Regions from separate parts of the Homo sapiens genome. Here all the other regions are linked to region 4. Evidence: promoter capture Hi-C in 16 types of primary human blood cells and fetal thymus (Javierre and others, 2016). All regions are on one chromosome and are shown on one strand. Each heading gives the region's core, a stretch centred on a gene start or on the middle of the fragment in contact. The rest is flanking DNA. Distances are from core to core; before and after follow the strand shown. Region 1 has its middle 40 kb from the start of FCER1A. Region 2 has its middle 43 kb from the start of ACKR1. Region 3 has its middle 5.1 kb from the start of ACKR1. Region 4 holds the start of CRP (C-reactive protein).

Region 1 (3,918 bases), core at 155-2,654, 370 kb after region 4:
ATAAATGAATATATGTAACATTTGTAAACAAAAAGTAATGCAACATTATTTTAAAAATATGTATTATGCAGCTTTAAACATAATGCATATGATAATTTTATAATTCAGTGGAAAATAGTAAGTGAAGCAGGATATGATATAGTATGTACAAAATAATCTCAATTATATGAATATCTGCATAGAGAAAGGCTGAATGTAAATGATCTAAATGTTAGTAGAATATGGTTCTGCATGGTGTAATTATGGGTAAGATCCCACTGTCTCCTAATTTTTCCCTAGTGTCCATGATAAGTATGTATTACTTATGCAGTGGGGTTGAGGGTATGTTCAAATTTTTAAGCCTTTCTTGAGGCCATTCTCTCAACCATCTTTCCATCTAGATATCCCTCCCTCCTTGGTTCTCTTTGCATTTCATTCCTTCTATAATAGCACTTGTCACATTCAATTGAAATTATTATCTGACATTTCAACTACATTTTAAGCTTCCTTATTATAGAGATCATTCTCAATTCCATATCGCTAAAGCTATCCTAATTTTTGCCACATTTTAAGTTTTTGATAAGTATGTGTTAAATGAACTAATGAATAAGGGAATGCTCTTGAGATACTTCTAGTCTGAAGAAAGAGACCCTCACTTCTGCCAGATATACACAGAAACACTTCTTTGGGCACACAGAAACCAAGAAATGTATTTAAGTGAAAATCTAGACTATAGAACTATAGGGTAGTGAGAGGTAGAGAATATGGACTCTTCCTTTAGGGAAATTGCAGGCATGTGGAGCATATGAAGCACCCAAGCAAAAGAAAGACAGAAAAACTGGCATACAGATAGATAGGAAAGGATAAAATCCACAAAGCTCTTTAAGTTGCAGAAGCTGAGAAGCTGCTAGAGCTAAAAGACATGAAAGGGCAATATAGGAAAAGATGGAGAGATAAACTAAATGCTGACAAACGATTATCATTAAGAAGGGACATGAATAATTATTCTGAGTTAGTTTTCCAATTCTTAAATTAAGTTTTTGTGAATAGCTCTTTTCTCTAAAAAGATGGTAAAAACGTATATGAATGTTTTTTGCATTTTACAGTTTTCTTTATTCTTCAAAGTCATAATAAATCTATCAGAAATAACTATGTGGTAGAAAAGTGAGAAAACTGAATTCCAAAAAGGAAAAAGGAATATCACACATTTAGTTCATGGCAGAGCTAACTTGGAAACTCAGCTCTCTTGACCCTGAACACTGAGTCCTTTGCTATTAAAAAAATTTCATTACTGGAAGAAAAAAATATTTTTATCTCAGCTGAGATACTGATACATGAAACACTGATATACAGAAGTGAATGAACCTTCTTTAGGAAGACATTTTTTAAAAAGGGAATCATTGTATCTTATTCTGAGTTGCTTTTGATGTCTCTGTGAAGAGGCAGGAACATGGACTGTGTAATTGTTACCTAATTTCCTCATAGTTCCTGACGTAGCTACTATCATCTGATAGGAGGGTGAGGCTCAGAGGAAAATGGTGTTCCTTTTAATTGTTCTCTGCTATGGCAAGTCTAGTATCTATCTGTCTAGAATCCTTAGCCTCAGTCTAATTCACATCCACCTATCTCTCTCTCTTTTTCTCTCTCTCTCTCTTTCTCTCTCTCTCTCACACCCCTCCGCCCGCCCCCCCCCCACACACACACACATTATGCTGAGTACATTTTTCTGAAAGTAGTGATCCTGATGCCCCCATGCATTGTTGCTGAAAAGGGGCAGGAACAGTAATCTGACCAGGACTGTGCATGATAGATAAGGGGTGTCAACGGAGCATATAGACTCTCAAAGCTGATGGAAAAATGAAGGTAGCCCTTATACTCTAAATGGCTGAGGAGTTAGAAAATAAAATGCAGAAACAAACATTTGGTTAACATACACCAGCCTAAAGGCTAGTGATTACTCTGCAAGGAAATAAAATACTCCCATTTGGTAGGTGGAGAATTTGAGGCTCAGTGGGATAAGCTACTTCAGTGGGATAAGCTACTTAAGTCCGACTCACAGATCTAGTAATTGGCAGTTGCAGGTGTGAAACAAAGATATTTCTAACTCCAAATCCCATGCATTTCCAACAGATCAATGCCCTACTGAATGAATTTTCAGGCAAGGTGTTCAGGTAAGAGAAGAAGGAGACAATAGCTGTATGAAAACTGCATCTCAGCCTTATTGACTCAAAAGATGCCAGGGACATCAGGAACAGATGACAATTCTGGGAGTTATGAAAGTTGTCTTATTCACTCTTCCCTCCAAGATTTTCTGCAGCTGATTTTATTATTTAAACATAAAGCTTGTAAGAATACTATATTTCACTTTATAAGTCATCAGCTCTCAATCAGCCATCATGCAAGATACAGGGAAATTATGAAATTCTAATATCACAAAAATAATCAGAAAACTGAAGAGAAAAAGGAAGTATATCAGAAAATTTAAAATCAAGTTTCCTCTCCTTTTTTTCCTATCAATAACCACTTACTTTTTGCAAACTTGGCAGAGGAAATGAGAGAAATTCTCCTTTTAGCTGGTGTATTTGAACATGAAAAGAAAATAAATAAATAAAATAAACAACAACAACAAAAAAACCCTGAGATTAGAACCTCTCCAAAAGGTCTAGTAGGAGAAATTGAAAGCTTCAAGCCTGGATGATCAGCACTTCCTGAGTGTCTGAAGGAAGATTCGAGTATGGTGACTAATTCAAGGTCCAGAGCATTGACTCCTCTGGCTTGGGAAGTCTTCCTGCAGAGTTGAAATCTCTTGCAACCCCAAATCCAGGAACTCTGTTTACTCCTGAAAGAGAAGCAACTTCATCTGCTCTAGAACTCTGGGGACTTCCCCTTGAGAATCATTCCAGGGCACGGAGGGAAGCAAAGTGTATGACTCTATCCCAGGGATCTGATTAGGAATTTGGGCAATTAGTAAAACAAAACTCATTGCCTTTGGTTATTGACTCACCAAAGCAGCTTGCATCTTAGAATGTAAAGTCTATTTTGTTAACAAACCAATGAACCTAGAAGAAACCTGCAAAATAAAATGGCCTATTTATTATACGTTTGAGGATCATTTCTTTATTTATTAAACCAATAAATATTAATGGAGAGCTTAAGTGCGATGAATTATGCTGAGTATTGAGGACACAAGCATGACAAAAACAGTCATGGTGTTTGCTCACATAGAGCTTATCAAGGAGGGAGGCATACAAAACTATAGCTAATCCATTATTATCTTTGTGCAAATTAGCAAAAGGAGACTCTTCATGTAGATGCAGCCAATGTACACACTCCTTTGTGAGCAGAGACTGTATTTATACAATTAGTAAAAGGGCACTCCTGCTTATAGACAGAGGGAGATCTATAACAGGATGTATGGCTTGTCAAGTGCACTGTGAGCTAGATTTTACCCCTCATTCTCTCCCTGATTAGGTGTTCTTGTCCTTGTCCAGTGAATAGCCTTCCCACCTAGGCATATTTCAAATAAATCATCTCACAAGTAAATACATTATTATGAACAAAAATAAATGCTATAAGGAAAGGTTTGAGCCATTATGAGAGCATATAACAGAGAGGGCAGGTTGTCCTAGTCTGGGAAGACTTTAAATACTTTTCTGAGGAATGATGTTCAAACAGGAATATTTAAGATAGATATAGGTCAACCAAGAAAGAAATTTTAAGATAGAGAGAAAACATGAGTGAAGGACTTGAGAGATTAATGATAATAACTCATTCTGAGAAGTGAAAGAAGGCAAAATTGTACACACAGTCTGAGGAAGAGATGATGTTAGAAGGTAATAGGGGATGAGATCATACAGAGTCTTGTGCCACTTTGTAAGGCCAATGTGGAGCCAGCAAAGCTTTTAAAACCGTGAATAGCACAATCAGATGTGCATTTCA
Region 2 (3,489 bases), core at 56-2,555, 470 kb after region 4:
TTTAGTGGGCCTGTGTTCCTGGAATGTGACCTTCACAAGGGTGTCTTGTCCTCTCTCCTCACTCAGGTGAAATAGGAATGCTAGAGAGGGCTAGAGTGAGAGAAATTATTTTCCCCTAGGTGGGATAAGGCTCTGATAAATCTTTACCCCTGGAGAGTAAGTCTTTGCTATGAAGAACAGTCAGGTTGTATTCTACAAGTTATTCTTTCCCTCCTTCTACCTGAGCCATGAATTTTTTCTGACCGCTCTTCACCATAAGAACACTGTGTGGTGTCTGGAGATAAAACTCACAAAAGTATGTGGGTGCCCCTAAGATTGCAGCACCTAGGAGTTTCTCATTCTCAGGATAATTCTCACATTAGCCTTCTGAAATTTGTCAAAATTGTTGTTTAAGTGTTCCAGTTTATGGCTCCAGGGCTTCCCCAGCAGTAAGCTGTCTTCATGTGGTTCTCTGGATTCACCTGTTTTTCCAGATTTAGGGGTGGCAATTTGCCCTGCAATCTCAGTTTTCTGAGGTATTCATGAAAAGCTGCTAATTTTGTTTATTTATCTTCTTTGTTGTTGCTGTTGTTGATAGAATGGAACTGATGACTTCTAAGCTTTTGCATGTTGGAACTGAAAGCCAGCTAATCTACTTTTGAAGACCAGATTTTTTACTACCTTTTTAAAGGGTGCTGTATTAGGCTTTTCTTGCATTGCTATAAAGAAATACCTGAGACTGGGTAATTTATAAAGAAAAGAGGTTTAATTGGTTCTATAGGCTTTACAGGAAGCATGGTGCTAGCATCTGCTCAGCTTCTGGGGAGGCCTCAGGAAGCACAATTATGGCAGAAGGTAAAGTGGGAACAGGCACTCCACATGGCACAAGCAGGAGGAAAAGAGAGAGAGTCAGCTGGGGGAGGAGATGTCACACACTTTTAAATGATCAGATCTCATGGGAACTCAGAGCAAGAGCTCGCTTATCACCAAGGGGATAGCCTAAGCCATTCATGAGGGATCCACCCCCACAATCCAAACACCTCCCTCCAGGCCCTACCTCCAACACTGGGGATCATGATTCAACATGAGATTTGGCAGGTACATACATTCAGACTTTGTGAGGCACTCTGCAATTTGGCACAGGCTAGCTTTTTCTTAGAATAAAATCCAAGGAAAAATATCAAATCAATACAAATAATACAATAATTTCAGAGTTTCTGTTAACATCACTTCTTCTTTGAAGCTTTATTTGAAGTCTTCAGCTCACACTGAGCTCACTTCAGTCTGGGTCTAAATTCTATTTTTTGTTGTTTTTTTTTTCACTCAACTTTCACTTAACCAAATACTATCTAGTAATAGTTGACTAATGTTTTTGGATAGATGGGCTGTCTCTTTAAATATAAGCTTTTCATGGGAGGCAAAATATTTTATACAACCATCGTATCCCTAGTTGTGCTATCATATCTGTATACTAGACAAATGGGGAATATTAAATTAAATACTTAGGGTGGTCCAAGTTTTGCAATTTTTTTTTTTTTTGGACGATAGTGAGGCTTCATCAGGTTTTCAGGACAGAGGTATGTCTGGATCACCTCAATTTATAGATTATTATTTTAAGAATAGGTGAGAAGGAAGAAGAGGATAAAGCAGCCAAACATTTGGACCCCACGAGTGGCTGACACATTATTCATTACTACTTCAAAATACAACAACAAACGTACTCATTTCAAAGTAGGTGCGATAAACTAATAGCAGTTCTATAAGTCTTCCATGTGGGCAACTCAACTCTTCCCTCTTTGCTTCTCCCCTCACTACATACTTTCTGCTTAATTTTTTCCCTTTGTCTCACTCTGTATATATTTTATTCATTGATTAATTAATAAAGATTTAGCTGGTGACATCAGCAAGATAGCAGAATAAGAGGTCACAGGCTTCACTACCCCCCATAGAAAGTTCAACTAACAATTATCCACAGACAAGGATGCCTTTGTGAAAACTCCAGTACTTGAGAATAAGCTTGAGAAAACAGTGTGGACAACAGAACTAAATAAAGACCACAAAAGGGGTTAAGTAAAATGGCCTCACTGATTGCATCACCCCATCACCCCTGCCCATTCCATGAGTCAGCAAAGTACCACACAGAGAGGATTCCCCAAGGCTCAGTTTCAACAGTGGGAAAAGAGAACTGGAGTTGGACATCCAGCTTCCCTAGAATTCTGAGACGCTTCCCAGGAAGCCCGCTGTGGTCTCACCTCACAAGGAGTACAGCGGGTAACAGCATGAACACTGAACAAACCTTGCTGATAGCTCTGTGTACCTTCCAGTGGTGGTACCTGATCAGAGATACAAGCCAACAGCATCACCTACCCACAAAGCTGAGCTGGTCACTCCCAGAAGTGATGGAAAGTCCTACCTAGCTTGAATCCCTAGATGGCGAGCCTCCAGGCTTAGTCTCAGACCCTACCACAAGGCCCTCAACCCAGGGAGAGAGATGCTTGTCCCAGCACAATTTGGAAAAGAGTGGGATCCAGTTTATACAGCATTTAGCACAGCCTCAAAGCTTGCCCAAGACCCTGTCCAGGGATGGAGACAACCAAACAGAACACTTCAGCAAAGTGCAGTGGCTAGTTCTGCCACACTCAAGCATGCTCCATTTGAGCAGCTACTCTGCCTAACCTCAGAGCCAAGCCTGAAACCCCATCCAGCTGCAGATCTCAAACAACAGTACCACTTGGCCAGAGAATACACCTTGTGGCCCAGGCTGATCTGAGATCATTGCAATGTACATCCAGCAGATCTGTCTGATTGCATGTCTCAGCCAGTGGTCTCTCCTGACAGATTAGCCCAACCAGCAGCCACACCCAAAATCCAAGCAGCTACCTAGAGAACTCAAAAACAAGCTCTGTCTGCACAAGATTATTACCAGCTGGTCCATTCAAAATCACAGGTTAGACTAAATAAGGAAAAGTCTATCCCTGTCAAAGAATTCTTGTAAAATCTGGAAGAGGTGGTTGTCTCTTCAAATGTGCAGACACCAACATAAGGGCACAAGAATTAAAAATAATCAGAAATTCATGGCATCACCCAAATAAACTAACAAATTAAACCCATAAAAAGGTTCACCAAGACACATAATAATCAAACTATCAAAAATAAAAGACAAAGAAAAAATTCTAAAAGCAGCAACAGATAGGAAACACATACAAGGGAGTCCCAATACAACACTTCACAGATTTCTCAGTAGAAACGCTGCAGGCCAGGAAAGAATGAGATGATATATTTAAAGTGCTGAAGGGAAAACAAAACAAAACAAAAACAAACAAACAAACAAAAACAGGAATATTTTACCCAGCTAAGCTATCCTTCAGAAATAAGAAATTCACCACCACTAGACCTGCCTGACAGGAATTACTAAAGGGAATTCTTTAAGCTGTGTCAAAAGGCCACTAATTAGTAACACAAACCATATAAAAGCACAAAACTCAATGATTAAGTAAGCCAGAGTCATAT
Region 3 (3,913 bases), core at 1,029-3,528, 500 kb after region 4:
GGAAATTTTGAGAAACGAGGAAGGAAGGAAGGAAGGAAGGGGATGGGGGACCAGGTGGGCCCAGAGAGATTCTGATGCCAATAATTGTGTATGATTCATTTCCAAGTATTCCAGTACTTTCACTAGCATCTTGAATGTAGTGGATACTCAACAAATTCTTTAAATGAAATTAATTATACACCCCTAAGTGCCTTAAAGGGCGATCCTGTTCCCAAAACTGCAGAGACATCAATTGCCACAGGGGGGCGACAGAGGCCAGAAGGTGAGAGTAGGAACCAGCGTTCACAGGTGGGGAAGGGGTAGGGTTGGAAGGGGAGCTAAGTTGAAACTAAAAGGAAGGAGAGAAGACCGAAGAAAAAAAAAATCAGCATGGTGACTTTTCGGTCCAAGGGGGGTAGTGGGCTCTCCCTGAGAATGATGCAATCTGAGGAGGTGGCTGGACTATGAATTTGATTCCGAGCCAGTGAAGGACTTTGTCTCCCAGAACTCTGGGGGAGTCTCAGTGACTCACTTTTCCTCAAGCAAAGATGAAAAATGACAACCTTTCCCAGTTTTCCCCTGCTGGCCAAAAACCCGGCAGTATCCCAAAGGAAAGGAAGCATTGTTTCTTTAATGCGTGGTTCAGGAACTGTGGTGAAGTCCTCAGCTCCAGTCAGCCATGAATTGACACAAAAAAACAGGTTCACAGGCCGGAAATCTACAGAAGATTCTCCAGCCTCTTCAGCCCCCAGACACTGGAATGACATGGGAGAGGCTCTGGAGGACTTAGGGAGAAGAGGTCAGTTTTCTGCATCAATTATTTGCTTACTTGTTCCTCTTCCCTCTCTGGACTGTGAATGTTCCAGTGTGGCCAATGAATCTTTATTCATGAAATTAACTTGGGTATTTAGTAGATGTTTCCTGAGCTCTGATCATGTGCCAGTCAGCGAAAGGACTCTTGCATGGTTGAAGTTTCTTTTCTAGTGTTGGAGGGAGGAGGTAGACGAGCAGTAAACTGATAAGCAAATAAACGAATAAATAAAATTTTAACATGTGATAAATGCTACAGTGGAAACATCCGAGGTGAACTGGTAGAGAATAATTGGGTGTGGCATGGCCAGGCTACATTCCACTGGATGTCAGGGAAGGTCACTCTTGAGGGAGGTGATATTTGCACAGAGACCCCAAGGACGAGAAGTTGTTGGTCATATAAAGAGCACAGGAAGGAGCTTTTGGGGCAGAAGAGATATCAAGTGCAAAGACTCTTAGAGTGGAAAACAGATTTGCTCCTTCAAAGAACAAAATTCACCCGTGAGCATAAAGCTTCTTGAGCTGTGGGGAGACAAGGCCACCAGCTAATCGTGGAAGTGCTGTCAGAGGGTACAGAAACACTCAGGATTAACTTAAATGCAGTAGCGAAGAACTAGATGCCAAATTTAGGGTATAATATTGGATTTTTGTAAAGAGTAAGTTTATTACTATCACTGGATTTTCTAAGAGGCCTATAACCCTCCTCCTATCCCGTAAACATTAGCAATACCCTATTTAGAGGAAAAAGACTAGGTCCATGCTCTTAGAAAGACTAGAAAGATGAAAGGTACAGTTTGGAGCTACATACAATGTATTTTTGCATGATACGGAGAACTACCCAGGAAAAAAAAATACAGTTATCTTTGAAGAGGGCAAGGGTGAAACTTGACACGTTATCTGGGAAACCAAAGGCAGTAGGCAACTTTTTTTTTTTTTTTTTTTGAGATGGAGTCTCACTCTGTCGCTCAGGCTGGAGTGCAGTGGCGCGATCTCGGCTTACTGCAAGCTCCACCTCCCGGGTTCACAAGCAGTAGGCAACTTTAAATGACCACAGATGTGGTAGGAACATATAGAGAAAGCTGAGGACAAATGGCATTGATGGGGAAGTTGAGACTTTCATGCTAGAAACCAAGTTTGCAAACAATCAGGCAATGATTTTGAGATACTAGAGAGCTATAAGAACTTAATCTTCTCATTTATAAAAATGTATCCAAAAGATTTCCTAAATCTAAGTGCAACATAAAGATGTCTGATACATCCCCTTAAAATGATGTTCCCGCCGGGCGCGGTGGCTCACGCCTGTGATCCCAGCACTTTGGGAGGCTGAGGCAGGTGGATCACCTGAAGTCAGAGTTCGAGACCAGGCTGGCCAAACTGGTGAGACCCCCCCGTCTCTACTAAAAATACAAAAAATTAGCCTGGCGTGGTGGTGCACACCTGTAATCCCAGCTACTCAGGAGGCTGAGGCAGGAGAATCACTTGAACCTGGGAGGCGGAGGTTGCAGTGAGCCAAGATTGCACCACTACACTCCAGCCTGGGCAACAGAGTGAGACTCTGTCTCAAAAAAAAAAAAAAAAAAAGAAGATGTTCTCAAAATCCCCCAACCAATTTTCCAGAGCCAGTCTCTTAGAGAGTTTCTCTTCCCTTCACCAAATAGTTACAGGAAAGAAGAAAGCTAACGTGCATTTTTGCAGAAATGATGCTTAAACACTCCCCATCCCTCCCTGTGTTCCCCACACCCTTCCTGCCCAAATCACCTAGATGTCTAGAGATGATTTGGAAGGACTTGGACTTGTTAATTAACCTAAACAGTCGCATTCGTCAGCAAGGTGCATTATTGTTAATTAAAACTCCGATTCTCCTTGTGCCCAGACGGCGGGCTGCTGTTGTCAGAATAATTAGATAGCATACGATGGTTTTCATGCAAATCTCTGGCAATTAGAGTTGGCGATGAATTGGGTTTGAAATCCCAGTGAAGTTCTCAATCAGAATTCCTCTGAGGGAGGAAGGTGGTGATGGGGTTGGGGGATAGGGAAATAGGAATGGAAAAAGGGTGTGAGGACCAAGTATTTGTTTTCTAAATCCTAAGGGAGGGGCCTCAGCTTGGAATAAATGAACTATGAGCGTCAATGTGATGTTCAAACTTCCCTTGAATAATAGATCTCTCTCCTTTAGAAAGCAAAGCAAACTGACCTTCCTCAGGGTCCTGTGTTTTCCCAAGAGCTTGCTTCCCTGGCTCTCATCTTTCTGAGAGGATTTTTTTCTTTAGCTAGGATGCCCAATATCTCATACACAGCTAAAGTCCCTGCCAACCCTAAGATTAAATTCTTAAGGGCTTTAAGGAGACAGGATTTGTATTCCTGAAGGGTTGCAGAAAAGATGCCAGACTCAGACCAATTTTAGAGTGGTTGATGGCATGCAGTGGGTTAAATGCATGGGGTGGCAGGTCCCCAAGAAAGCTTTAAAGAAATGACTGAGGTCCGGGTTAGACTTAAGGAGGAGCTCTCCAAGTGCTGCCTAGGTAATGGCAGGGAAAGGGCAGCCCAAAAGGCCTGGAGCAATCCCGGTGGGGGTGGGGATGAGGAGGATGTAGCAGGGGGCGGGGGTAGGGCACTGTCTCCAGCCCACCCTAACCTCTTAGCAGCTTCGGGCTTCTGCAGCTGCCTTTCCCTTGTGAAAGCCATGAGAGCTGCCAAGCTATTACCCAGGAGTCTGGGGTTCTCTCTAACTGGACTGACTGACCAGGGATTTCTATCCAGAGGCACAGGGTTGGGGGCAGATAAGACAAGCCTACTGGTCTTAAATTAAGCCTCCCTTGCATCAGGTTGACACTGGAAGATTCAGGGAGTCAAAAACGCCCTCTCCTCCCCCTCAACTAGGTCAGCTTCCAAATCAGTACCTTGTAAGGGAGGACAGCAACATCTGGTAGAATTGCAAGAGTGGTCAAGGACGGGAGGGGGATATTGAGAGAAGCCTGGAAAAAAAAAAGCGGGGGAAAAAATACTAGAACACATTCATGAACTGTGGTTGGAAACCAGAGCATAATTTAGGTTTGTAAATTATTTCCTTTCTCTTCATTTTCTCTCCCTTCCTTTCTGTTTCAGAATGTCTCCCGCGTCTCAA
Region 4 (3,856 bases), core at 1,033-3,532:
CAGAAGGCTGAGGCAGGAGAATCACTTGAACCCAGGAGGCAGAGGTTGCAGTGAGCTGAGATTATGTCACTGCACTCCAGCCTGGGCGACAGAGCGAGATTCCATCTCACAAAAAAAAAAAAAAAAGAAAAGAAAAGAAAGAATTCAGGAGGAAGTTATAAACTGTGTTGAATATTGCCAAGAAGCTGGGTAAAATAAGAACAGAAAATTCATTATTAGATTTAATGAGAGAGGTGTTTGTTTATGTTGGCTTCACTAGAGTGGTGAAGGCCAATGGCTGATTTCCATGGATTGAGGAGGGAACAGGAGATGGAAAATAGAGGTTGTCAACCCACGTAAACTTTTCCTTCCTTCCTCCCTCTCTCCCTCCCATCCTTCCTTTTTTCTCTTTTCTTTCTTCTTTCTCTAAAAGATTAAATATATTATAGTATGGTTTTGTGGAAATGATCAAGTAAAGATGAATAAATTAATAATACAGAAGATAGAGAGGATACCTATAGGAGCAAAATTCCTTGCATAGTCGACAGGGTCTGGGATCCACTGAAGAATTGCAAGGGTTGGCCTTAGATGTAACACAGGGAGAGCTCATCCCTTTTAATAGAGGAAGACAGAAAGGCTGGTACATTGGGTTGTAGGAGGATATATAAGGATATCAGTTAGGTGTTAAGAACAGAAAGACTGAGTTAACAGTGATTTAACAAAAGAGGAGAGTATTTCTCCTTTAAGTAAATTTTCAGGTAGGCAGCCTAGAGCTGATGCAGTGGCTCCATACCCAATTATCCAGGCTCCATCTATCTTGTTGCCATGCCAACCTCAACATGCAGCTTACACTTGCTGGCCTGAAAGTGAACTATTCCATCTCCTGCTATCATGACTGAATACTAGTCAAAGGGAAAAAGGGGGAAGTGGGAGGGGAAAGCACATACCTTTCTTAAAGAGCACAACCTAGAGATGGTCCCTATTCTGTTCATATCTCGTTGGCCTTAATTTAATCACATCATCACTGCAAGCTACAGTGGGGGCTGGGAAATTTGGTGTTTGAGGGGATGACCAAGCGCCCAACTGAAAATGTTATTCTTCTCTTATGAGAAGTAGAGAATGGATGTTAGGGAATGGCTAGAAGACTCTACTACAAAGGATACGGTGGTTCTTTTCTGATTGCTTCTAACTTCTCAATGAAAGGTGAGTTCATCAGCTGAATGAAAGAATAAATGAGATTTTGGGGACTTGAGGAGCAAGGAGAAGGAGTATAATAGTCATTTTGAAGAGTGAGTTAAGTAGGGAACTGTAGTAAGATTGACAGACAGTGTGGAGGGATTACTTGAATCTTGTGAATAGAGGAAAGAGTAGAATCAGATTATCCTGACTCCTGCCTGAAGCTTTACATATTCAGAGAAAAATGTTGGAAGAAACTTTGATATAATGCTATGTCTGTGATCAGGCACACATTTTACTGGACTTTTACTGTCAGGGCCGTCATTTAGTGCCAAGATGTCTAGAGAGTTCTTAATAAGTGTACTCAATTGGCTGAGAAAATGTGTCCATGCAAAAAACCAAACACCGCGTGTTCTCACTCATAGATGGGAATTGAACAATGAGAATACTTGGACACAGGAAGGGGAACATCACACTCTGGGGACTGTTGTGGGGTGGGGGGAGGGGGGAGGGATAGCATTAGAAGATATACCTAATGCTAAATGATGAGTTAATGGGTGCAGCACACCAGCATGGCACATGTATACATATGTAACTAACCTGCACATTGTGCACATGTACCCTAAAACTTAAAGTATAATAATAATAAAAAAATGTGTCCATGGCTCTGGGAGGAGCATGTTTGTTTTCCTCATTTCCCAGTCTGTAAATAAGCAAATTGAAAGGGGTTAGTGATAATGTCCATCTCCAGAAGCTGTCAGATTTCCTTTGTCAAACTCTATGATTTGGGCTGAAGTAGGTGTTGGAGAGGCAGCTACCACGTGCACCCAGATGGCCACTCGTTTAATATGTTACCATTTCCCATTATTTTCGCAGGATAGATAGCCAAAGTGGAGCCCTGAGAGATTTCTTCATTTTTCCTGTCATAAAGAATTGGTAATTCAGTAGTCATAGGAGTTTGTAATAAATAACTCACATTGATTTCTCTGTTCTGAAATAATTTTGCTTCCCCTCTTCCCGAAGCTCTGACACCTGCCCCAACAAGCAATGTTGGAAAATTATTTACATAGTGGCGCAAACTCCCTTACTGCTTTGGATATAAATCCAGGCAGGAGGAGGTAGCTCTAAGGCAAGAGATCTAGGACTTCTAGCCCCTGAACTTTCAGCCGAATACATCTTTTCCAAAGGAGTGAATTCAGGCCCTTGTATCACTGGCAGCAGGACGTGACCATGGAGAAGCTGTTGTGTTTCTTGGTCTTGACCAGCCTCTCTCATGCTTTTGGCCAGACAGGTAAGGGCCACCCCAGGCTATGGGAGAGATTTGATCTGAGGTATGGGGGTGGGGTCTAAGACTGCATGAACAGTCTCAAAAAAAAAAAAAAAAGACTGTATGAACAGAACAGTGGAGCATCCTTCATGGTGTGTGTGTGTGTGTGTGTGTGTGTGTGTGTGTGTGTGGTGTGTAACTGGAGAAGGGGTCAGTCTGTTTCTCAATCTTAAATTCTATACGTAAGTGAGGGGATAGATCTGTGTGATCTGAGAAACCTCTCACATTTGCTTGTTTTTCTGGCTCACAGACATGTCGAGGAAGGCTTTTGTGTTTCCCAAAGAGTCGGATACTTCCTATGTATCCCTCAAAGCACCGTTAACGAAGCCTCTCAAAGCCTTCACTGTGTGCCTCCACTTCTACACGGAACTGTCCTCGACCCGTGGGTACAGTATTTTCTCGTATGCCACCAAGAGACAAGACAATGAGATTCTCATATTTTGGTCTAAGGATATAGGATACAGTTTTACAGTGGGTGGGTCTGAAATATTATTCGAGGTTCCTGAAGTCACAGTAGCTCCAGTACACATTTGTACAAGCTGGGAGTCCGCCTCAGGGATCGTGGAGTTCTGGGTAGATGGGAAGCCCAGGGTGAGGAAGAGTCTGAAGAAGGGATACACTGTGGGGGCAGAAGCAAGCATCATCTTGGGGCAGGAGCAGGATTCCTTCGGTGGGAACTTTGAAGGAAGCCAGTCCCTGGTGGGAGACATTGGAAATGTGAACATGTGGGACTTTGTGCTGTCACCAGATGAGATTAACACCATCTATCTTGGCGGGCCCTTCAGTCCTAATGTCCTGAACTGGCGGGCACTGAAGTATGAAGTGCAAGGCGAAGTGTTCACCAAACCCCAGCTGTGGCCCTGAGGCCCAGCTGTGGGTCCTGAAGGTACCTCCCGGTTTTTTACACCGCATGGGCCCCACGTCTCTGTCTCTGGTACCTCCCGCTTTTTTACACTGCATGGTTCCCACGTCTCTGTCTCTGGGCCTTTGTTCCCCTATATGCATTGCAGGCCTGCTCCACCCTCCTCAGCGCCTGAGAATGGAGGTAAAGTGTCTGGTCTGGGAGCTCGTTAACTATGCTGGGAAACGGTCCAAAAGAATCAGAATTTGAGGTGTTTTGTTTTCATTTTTATTTCAAGTTGGACAGATCTTGGAGATAATTTCTTACCTCACATAGATGAGAAAACTAACACCCAGAAAGGAGAAATGATGTTATAAAAAACTCATAAGGCAAGAGCTGAGAAGGAAGCGCTGATCTTCTATTTAATTCCCCACCCATGACCCCCAGAAAGCAGGAGGGCATTGCCCACATTCACAGGGCTCTTCAGTCTCAGAATCAGGACACTGGCCAGGTGTCTGGTTTGGGTCCAGAGT

What was found. The method cuts DNA at HindIII sites, captures the fragments that hold promoters and counts their contacts. A CHiCAGO score of 5 or more calls a contact.
Region 1: a fragment that was not itself captured here is called in contact with the fragment with the promoter of CRP in region 4 in 1 of 17 cell types (M1 macrophages); the score reaches 6.3 in M1 macrophages.
Region 2: a fragment that was not itself captured here is called in contact with the fragment with the promoter of CRP in region 4 in 5 of 17 cell types (M0 macrophages, total CD8 T cells, endothelial precursors and 2 more); the score reaches 8.6 in M0 macrophages.
Region 3: a contact is called between a fragment that was not itself captured here and the fragment with the promoter of CRP in region 4, in 1 of 17 cell types (M2 macrophages). The highest score is 5.4, in M2 macrophages.

The regions. Positions count from the first base shown.
Region 1 is chr1:159,340,806-159,344,723 of GRCh38, reverse strand. No RefSeq gene overlaps it. Among named protein-coding and RNA genes, the nearest start is that of FCER1A, 40 kb to the right of the region's middle. The HindIII fragment of the contact is 1,839 bases long and covers 485-2,323 here.
Region 2 is chr1:159,246,066-159,249,554 of GRCh38, reverse strand. No RefSeq gene overlaps it. Among named protein-coding and RNA genes, the nearest start is that of ACKR1, 43 kb to the right of the region's middle. The HindIII fragment of the contact is 161 bases long and covers 1,225-1,385 here.
Region 3 is chr1:159,208,052-159,211,964 of GRCh38, reverse strand. No RefSeq gene overlaps it. Among named protein-coding and RNA genes, the nearest start is that of ACKR1, 5.1 kb to the right of the region's middle. The HindIII fragment of the contact is 1,947 bases long and covers 1,305-3,251 here.
Region 4 is chr1:159,713,015-159,716,870 of GRCh38, reverse strand. CRP (C-reactive protein) reads left to right here and starts at 2,282. Exons shown (of 2, transcript NM_000567.3): 1 at 2,282-2,446; 2 at 2,733-3,856. The coding sequence starts at 2,386. The coding sequence ends at 3,346. The HindIII fragment of the contact is 4,063 bases long and covers 1,382-3,856 here.